Regions from separate parts of the Homo sapiens genome. Here region 2 is linked to region 1. The links are contacts of gene promoters, found by promoter capture Hi-C in blood cells and fetal thymus (Javierre and others, 2016). All regions are on one chromosome and are shown on one strand. Each heading gives the region's core, a stretch centred on a gene start or on the middle of the fragment in contact. The rest is flanking DNA. Distances are from core to core; before and after follow the strand shown. Region 1 holds the start of CCDC68 (coiled-coil domain containing 68). Region 2 has its middle 86 kb from the start of RAB27B.

Region 1 (4,583 bases), core at 685-3,184:
GTGTCCTCAATAAATATTGTTTCAATGAATACATGAATAGGCCCACAAATTTACAGATGTACCAAATAGTTTCTAAAACAATGTACACACACACACACACACTCTCTCTCTCTCTCTCTCTCTCTCTCTCTCATTTTCCAAACCTATATAAATGGCTGTTTTTGTGCTTAGTAAATGACATTCATTTAAACGTGTTAGTAAATTCATGGTAAAATTTTGCCATTATGAAATGTTTTCAATCAATAAATAGCCATATAATTTTGATGTAAATATCTCAGTTCTAAAGATGAGAAACTACTATTTTAAAAGACTTTTACATTCCCATCAAAATCTTCAGTTATTTCCCCTTTCAGTCATTATTCCAAGCAAATAAACACCTCATTTTTCAGGTTTGTCTAAATCTAGCTTACATTTTTTAGCTTTGGCCAAAATTTGGATTACAACTCACCTTCAATGTTGAGCATACTGTAAACAAATAAGCTAACAAATAACATGCCTATCAGTAATTCACAAAATAGCAACAGTATTAATTTCAAAAGTCTCTTTCTAGTTAGGACAAGGGATCAATTTATTTTGTAAATAACAAGAGGAAAGAACCTTCTTATGACGTCGGCCTTATGACGTTGGCCTGGGTCCCAAGAAGTGTAGTTGTTTTCATTCTTTCTGCAAACATTTGAGGAACCACACGGGGATACTCCCTGCCTTGGGCAGAAATTCCTCTGTGTCAGGGGCCTTCCCTCTCAAATTGGGAGTGGGGTGGGGAAGAGAGTGGGCAGCGGGGGAAAAGCATAACAACAGCACCAATTGTGTCTGCCAGGGTACCTGACACTCCTGCCCAGCTCACATATCAGGAAAACCAGACTTCAGTAGCTCTGAATATTTAATGGCATTAGGTAAAATCAAAAGAACAGATTATCTCCTCCCTATCACAAACACAGAATAATTCCTTTTTGTATTCTGACACTTCATCCGAACTATATACACCAAGAAAGTAAAAGAGGTTTTGATTCCTAAAATAAAACAATCAGAATATAATGGGGAGCAGGTACACCTTCAGTTATGTTCAGGGCTTGTTGCTTGTTCTGATCCTTATATTCAATTTTGTCTTCACTTCCAAAAAGGCTGAAAATTCACAGCTATGTTATCATCCAATCTAAAAACTACACTTGCACGGTCCCGTACTAACCTTCAGTAAGATAAGAGTGTTCCTTTGTCTAGCCGCCTAGCACTCTGTAACTTCCACATCTAAAATATCATGATGCTACTCAACATTAAGGAAAAGGTCAAGCAATGGGCTGCTCTTTTTACTACACCTGCGGCTGCAGAAGCCCGCACAAATGAATGAAGACAGCCACCTTCATTCATCTCTGCTCTTTAAAAAATGCGAGCGCAGTGACCTGTCAAAGCCACCACGCTGGAGTTCCTAGGTCAGGGCGTTTACCGCAGGACTTTTCTCCATAGCCTCTGAAATTAGCAGGCAGAAATCGCGGGGACCCCTGACAAACGGATTGTATAACAACAACCTAAATAAATAATCAGGTGTGCGCCGGACTAAGTAGGGGTTCCTCTCTGCGGAAAAGCAGCTCTTCCCAATGGGGAAGAAACTTCTCGCCCAGGAAATTCGAGCCCAGAACCGAGGTTTCCAGGGAGGATTACCTCTTCAACAAGGACCCTTTTACAGGAAATGTCCTTGATGCCAGGAACTCCACTGGGGAAGCCGCTGGAAAGGCACCTGGACACCCACACACATGGAGGGGATGCGGGGGCGCGCCGCAGGGACCGGGCCCGAAGGTGGCCAGACTCGCCTACCTTGTGGGGCGCCCAGCCGACGCGGGGTCCCGGTGCTGCTCCTCCCCTGGGCGATCGGACCTTGGGGCCAGGGTCGGCTGCCAGGGCCCTGCGAGTGCAGCCGCCACCGCCCGCAGGCTTGGCTCCGCCCCGCGGGGCGCGCCCAGGGCAGAGTCCGGCGCCGGTGAGGCCCCGGGGAGGAGTCGCGGCAGGACGCGTACGCCCAGCGCTGGAGAGCCAGGCTCTGCCCCTCACGCCCCTCGCTAGGGTGCTGTACAGGCGGGTGGGGGGAGGGGATCGGCCGCTGCTTTTCAAGAAGGTTCTATTTGCACCCTAAGTTTATAAACTTTTGTTTTTGTTTTTTAAATAATTTTTGATTTTATTGTTTTTAGTATAAATTTATGGAGTACAAGTGCAATTTTGTTGTTTTTTTAAAAAACTTTCTTTTGGAACTTAAAAAAAGTTGCAAAGATAGTAGAGAGAGTCGTCTATATACCCCTCAGTCGGTGTCTCCTAATGCCTACAGCTTCCATAACTGTGGCACATTTGTCAAAACTAAGAAATTCACATTGGGCCAGGTGCGGTGGCTCACGCCTTGGTAATCTCAGCATTTTGAGAGGCCAAGGCAGGCGGGAGGATCGCTTGAGCTCAGGAGTTCGAGACCAGCCTGGGCAACATAGCGAGACCTCATTTCTACTAAAAATATTTTTTAAAAGACATTAACATTGATCTGCCACTATTAACACTACTCCAGACTTGATGTAGCTGTCACTAGCTTTTTGGCTAACGCCTTTCCCTTTCAGGATCCCAGCCAGGATACCACACTGCATTTAGCATCCTGTGCCCTTTGTCTCCTCTAATCCATGACAGTTTCTCTGTCTTTTCTTGACTTTGACAGCTGTAAAGAATTCTAGTAAAGTATTGTGATGAAGTATTCTGGTAAGGTATAGTTTTGTGGGGGTACCTCGACACCCACTCATGTGGGTATTGTCTACTGTTTTTTTCTCATGATGAGACTGGGGGGAGGAAAGACTCAGAGATGAAGTGCCTTCCCCACTGCATCCTCTCAGGGACGATGGCACGATGGCCAGGTGACTTATCACTGGTGACTTGACCTTGATCCCATAGTTAAGGTTGTGTCTGCCAGGTTTCTCTACTGCAAAGCTGTTTTTCTCTTTCCATACACTCTACTCTGAATGGCATGAATGGCATGACTCAATTCAGCTGACACTCAAGATGAGGGCAAGATTAAACTCCATCCCAGAGCAGGGAGTATCTATATGTTATTATTTAGAATGATTCTGTAAGGAAGATTTGTTCCATCTCTCTTGTTTATTCAATCATTTATGTCAGTATTTGTTATGTCAGTATGGACCCATGTATATTTATTTTATACTTTGGGCTAGAATTCAATACTACATTATTAATTTTGTTGCTCAAATGGTTCCAGCTTTGACCACTGGGAACTCTTTCAGGTTGGCTCCTGTGTCTCTCTGAAAGTTCATAAACTTTTAGGATTGTGGGGAAAAAAAAAAGGTGTATTTCCTCCGCCCCCCCTCAACATCTAACAGATTGAGAAAACTGCAACCCAAATCCTTCAATATCCAAGGGCTTTTCAGAATCTTCCTGGGAATCCTATGATTACTGATTCCCACCACAGTTAGAGAGGAATGTTATTTTTTTTTTTTCCTAGCAGATTAACTTGTAGATTGTGACCCAATTGGAGAAGTGAAAGTTGATGGTTCTTAGGTAATTTTTTTGTTAACTAATCCTTGTGGTTCTAGTAAATAGATGTATGTATGTTTACAGACAAATCGTGTTCCAAAGATAGCCATGGATGTTTATTACAAGTTTCAGCATTGAAGAAACCCAGCTGTTGAGGATCATTTGTTACATTGCTTTGGTTTGCTCATGTTTGCATTTGCAAGTTGGTTCCATAAACACCACATTTCCTCCTTCTGAGCTTGGCTTTTGCTCAGCATTTGACACTGCCTGCTTTCTGAGACCTGTCCACCTCTCTTCCTGGCCTTGACCCTTCCTGGAGAAGGAAATCTACTTCTCCATTAGCTTGGGTTGAGCTGGGTAAACACAGGATGCGGTGAAGTACCAGTGAGTACTCCAGAACTGCAGAGCTAACTCATTTTCTATCTTTCAACTATTTTTAACAAAGTTAGAAAAGTAAGAGTTAAAGGAAAACATTTCATACCTAAGACTCACCATATCTGCTATGGACTGAATGATTTGTGTTCCCCCCTAAAAGTTTATATAATGAAATCCTAATCCCCAACGTGGTGGTGAAAGTGGGGTCTTCGGGAAGTAATTAGGTCATGAAGGTAGAGCCCTCATGAGTGGGTTTTAGTGCCCTTCTAAGAAGAGACAAAAGGCTGGGAATAGTGACTCATGCCTATAGTTCCATCTCTTTGGGAGGCCAAGGCAGGTGAATCGCTTGAGCCCAGGAGTTTGAAACCAGCCTGGGCAATATGGCAAAACCTCATCTCTACAAAATATACAAAAATTAGCTGAGCATGGTGGTGCACTCCTGTAGTCCCAGCTACTCAGGAGGCTGAGGCGAAAGGATCACTTCAGCCTGGGAGGTAGAGGCTGTAGTGAGCTGACAGTGTACCACTGCCCTCCAGCCTGGGTAACAGAGTGAGACTCTGTCTCAAATAAAGAGAGGGAGAGAGAGAGAAGAGATATCTGTCATGTGATAACACAGCAAGAAAGCAGCCATCTGCAAACCAGGAAGCAGGCCTCCACAGACACCACATCTCTGGGTGCCTTGATCTTGGACTGCC
Region 2 (4,836 bases), core at 1,052-3,551, 220 kb before region 1:
AGTGGAATGGCTGAGCCACATGCTAAGTGTACATTTAGCTTTGTAAGAAGCTGCCAAATTTTATTCCAAAGTGATTGTTGCATTTTACTTTCTCCAGTACAAATAGTTTCTCCACATTCCCATCAGCATTTCGTATTCTTAATATTTTTAAGTTTAACCCTTCTAGTGGGTATGTAGTGGTATCTCACTGTGATTAATTTGCATTTCTTCGAAGTCCTAATGGTATTGAGCTTCTTTATGTGAGCTTATTAGACATTCATATATTTTCTTTTGAGAAATGTCTACTCAAATCATTTGCCCATGTAGATGTGTAAGAGTTATCTATATATTCTGGATACAAATTGTTTGTAAGATATATGTATTGCAAATATGTTCTTCTCTCATTCTGCAGCTTGCCTCTTTATTTTCATAACAGCTTAATTTGATATAGTCCCACTTACCTATTATTGTCTTTTATGGTTTGTTCATGGTCTGGTAACAAGTTCATGGAGGAAGAATTCATCTCATGGCTACAATTATTAAAATTCAGTTACTTGATTGATTCTGGATAAGGCAGTAATGTTAAGGATCTTCCTATAAGAATGATTATTTCTTATAGTTTCTATTAGCTCATCCCCAGATAATGAAACAATTCTCAGACATTGTCCTCCTAACCCCTTAGATGTCTAAATAGAAAGAGTTATAGAGCCTCAGGGATATGAAGGAAATGATGAGTCATTCTTGCAATCCTTACGTTGAATAAACATTTTAGTATTCAGACCATTTTTTCCAACACAAATTTCCAGAACCTATTTTTATTAAAGAGAGCAATCTAACGTAACTCATCTGGATATTAGAACAAGAAAGGAAATGAGGACCTTCTTTCCAATGTTTTATTTATAGGATACCTGCCTGAGTTTCCACAGCTTGACAGTGGAATGTCTCCAGTCAACATGTCACTTTCTCTCAAGTAGAATCATGACCTAGGAGTGGCTAAAGTGGTCCTGTTGGCACAGTGAGAGCTTTCTAATTAGTTAGATCTAGGTATACATGCTGGATCAGCAACTTTGGCAAGTCTCTTAAAAGTTCTGAGCCACAGCTTCCTTCATTTGTAAAATGTAAAGCTTGGGATATATAAGCCAGTATATAGCAGGCTCTCACTAAGTGATAGATAGACATAGACAGATGATAGATAGATAGATAGATGATAGATCGATAGATAGATAATATAAAGAATGAAATGAGGAGATTTTACTGCTAGTGCATTTTTATTAACAGAAGAAAGGAGGCTGAGAAATTGATGAAAACATATGACAAGACTAAAACTTGGTCTTTATTTTCAATAAACTCTACCTAGGTTTTTGGTCATGATGATAATCTAATAACCTACTTTCATAAAAAGCATTTATTCCGGAAGTCATGGATACTAAATAGTGTCCCTAGCATACAAAACCTAAGAGGCAAGTGGTATCACAATAATTTTCAAAGATAAGGTAAAATACAGTTAAATGTTACTAAGACCATATCTTCCTATGAGACCCTTTAAATTTTGAATTAGTAAATCAAAACTTGAAAAATACAAAAGGACAACATTAGAACACTCACCTACATTCCTCCGCCCATCCCACCATGTCACCCACAGCCCTGTTCCTTAAAGCTAAAGAGGTTTATCACCTATTCAGTGTTTCCATTTGCCAATACAGTCAAAGATGAATGTATATTATTTCCTCCCTTTTGTCACAAAAAAGTTAGTATACTAAGTTCACTGTTGTGCATCTGGCTTTTAAGAAATATAGTGGCCATGAGAAGCTACTAAGAATCATTCCAATCTTATGTACTGTGCTGCTGAACCAAGAACTCTAAGCTCTTTTTTTCTTCTTTTTTTGAGACAGGGCCTCGCTGTGTTGCACAGGTTGGAGTGCAGTGGTACAATCTCAGCTCACTACAACCTCTGACTCTTGGGCTCAAGCCATCCTCCCACCCCAGCCTCCCAAGTGGCTGGGATTACAGGCATGCACCACCATGCCCAGCTAATTTTTTGTTTGTTTGTATTTTTTGTAGAGAGAGGGTCTCACCATGTTGCCCAAGCTGGTCTTGAACTCTGGGCTCAAGCAGTCCACCCACCTCCATCTCCCAAAGTGCTGAGATTACAGGGGTGAACCACTGTACCTGGCCTCTAAGCTTTCTTTAAGTAAAAAGTGACCTACCTCCTGGCAATGGCTTAGTTCTCCTTTTGCCTAAGCTGGCAGTAGGTAAGAAGTCAAGGCCTCTATAATATCTGAAGACATAGTCTAGAGTTAAATACTTGCAAAAACAAGCTCTGAGGATTCTGACATTCTACCTTCTGGCAAAATCAGTCTTAAGGGGTTTGTTTTGGCCTGAAGGCTTGTGCTACAAATAAAAGTATATTTCAGTGTAAAAGTTAATGCAGCTTTTCATAGAGGAGTGAATGTTTTCATATGCAAAGCTTGAAAGGGAAAGAGAATCTAAAGCAGTCTTATTTTTCTGATTAGGACAAATGACCAGGAGAAAGCCTTTAAGGCAATTGTTTGCAAAATGACTTAATTATCACCCTGGAGGAAACTGTAAGCCTCTTGTAACACTGTCCTTCAGGAAACTTACAGGAGAGACCTTTCTGGCAGTCGTAATGGTGGGTGGAATACAGTGTTGAAGTCATTATCGTACATGCGGTTTATTTGATGATTAAATTGCCTGGAAGCAGTTTCATCTTTCTGAGTTTATAAGCATCCTAGCTTGTTTTTCAAAAACCTAAAAGTACATGTACATGATGTTACTTAAATCTATCAGAACGGAAGGCAGGAGGAAGTTGGGGTCAGTCATACAAATGTTATAAAGTATAAGGTCATTTAAATCATTTGTAATTTATTTACTAAGAATACATTTGCTATGTCTGCAATAGATTGGCCTTCATTTCTGTGTTTTGCCTCTGCTAATAATCAAGTTTATTTGCATTTTCTGAGTATAAAGCAAGTAATTATGAGAACAAGTGCCCTGAAGACAGCTGAGTGGTAGGTGTAAGGCAGTCTGGCTTCCAGATTTTCTATGTTTCTAGACTGTGAGACAGAAAACAGCAAATCCCTGGAGTCTAACCACAAGGAGGATGCTGCCCACTTGCATATGAAGACCAAAAGCTTCCAGTTGCATAACACTGTGCTTTCCTCTGTGGATGTTGGCCATATCCCAGGACCTTGATAATAGGGCTCATGACTCCTAAAGTGTGCAGGAAAGCCTTGCAAATTTTGCATCTATGTCAACTCACCCTGTGAGGTCAGCTTTTGGCAGGATGACCAGACCATGTACTACTTTTGGAAGCCTGCAGAAGTTGCTGGCAATCCTCAGAAGTGTGTCTTCCAATTTGGAACAAGATTTTCAAGCCTAGATAGAAACAGAGAAGATCACTTTTCTTCCTGGTCCTGTATAACATAATCTCAAGCATTCTTGGACACCCACTCTTATTGCCTAAGCCAATGATTTTGTATCTGGTCCTTAATTCCACACTACTCTGCAGCATCTCATTCAGCTATTGTGCTATTTAGCTTTTACATACTGTAGTTTTCAACATTTTGTGTCACTGTAATTTTCAGCATTTTATGTCACTATATTAACATAACTGAATTAGAAGCTCTTTTTGTGGTGGTATTCTATTATTCATTCAGCCCATATTGATTGAGTTCCTACTATGAATCAGATCCTCTTCTAGGGGCTGATAATAGAGTTCCTGTTATCTTGGAGCTCCAGACAGTACAATGCAAATATGGAAATGCAGCTATAATATGTCAGATGTGAATAATTAATGAAGATCAAGGGCCGAGAGAGTAGGAGCTGATTTCCATTGAATCATGAGTGAGGAAAACTCAGTCCATGTGGAACTTAGGCAGAGTCCTGAGATCAGTGAGGGAATGAGCCATTCAGACAATAAATGCGGGAAAAAGCACCTAAGGCAGAGGGAATGATGACTGGTGGATGCCTGGTCCTTGCATAGCAGTGTGTTTGTCACATTCCAGGAAGAGCAAGAAGGTAAATATGGCTAGAATAAAGAGGGAGAGAGGAGAGTAATAGGAGGTGAGATCAGATACACAACAAAGAGCCAGAGTGGACAGAGCGAATCAGCTCATAGATCCTTGATAGAACTGTGGCCTTTATGCCCAGTGAGATGAGAAACCCTTGAAGAGGTGGGAAAAATAAGAGACATGCTCTGTCACGTGTTAATGGTTCACTTGAGTGCCCTTAGGAAATCGACCGTAAGGGAGGTGGGGAGAAGCACAGACCAGTTACAGAGATATCACATCACAGTCCAGACAAGAGATGTTAGTGGTGAAAACCAGTGCCTAGAGGAGTGATTCTGATGTAATTTATATCCAGCAATCATCCCTCGAGATAATTTGGGCCAAGCAATTTGCCTGAATCTGTTCTTTTTACCATTGTACTAACTTATTAAAATCAACAGTGAATAAATGTTATATGAAGAAGATAGATTGATTTCATTCATTGGAAAGTGTGTGAGCCATGGCTACTTGTATATCTCCTAGGTAGCTCATATTGGACCCATTCAAAATGATTAGCAGATTTGGATGCTTAATATTTCTTCTACCTTTCCTGTCTCATTTTAGGGCAAAGTTTTAGTTATTTATTTTTATTTCAAAATGTGATAAAGAAATCTTCTAAGAGAAGATAAAAACCTGTTTTTATTTTCCTTTAAGATTTGGGCTATACTGATATTCTAGCATTTTGAGGCTTAGACAATAGGTGACTATATCTCATCATTAGCAATCTAGACCCAACAGCTTGTTTCTTTTTGAAGGAGAATATAGAGAGGGTCAGGCCCAAGGCTATCTG

The links. Contacts are between HindIII fragments. The CHiCAGO score rates a contact against its expected background, and 5 or more counts as called.
Region 2: a fragment that was not itself captured here is called in contact with the fragment with the promoter of CCDC68 in region 1 in 1 of 17 cell types (erythroblasts); the score reaches 5.1 in erythroblasts.

The regions. Positions count from the first base shown.
Region 1 is chr18:54,957,527-54,962,109 of GRCh38, forward strand. It overlaps CCDC68 (coiled-coil domain containing 68), which reads right to left and starts at 1,935. Exons shown (of 12, transcript NM_025214.3): 1 at 1,810-1,935. The HindIII fragment of the contact is 7,607 bases long and covers 1-4,583 here.
Region 2 is chr18:54,739,648-54,744,483 of GRCh38, forward strand. It overlaps a transcript of RAB27B not described here. Among named protein-coding and RNA genes, the nearest start is that of RAB27B, 86 kb to the right of the region's middle. The HindIII fragment of the contact is 286 bases long and covers 2,159-2,444 here.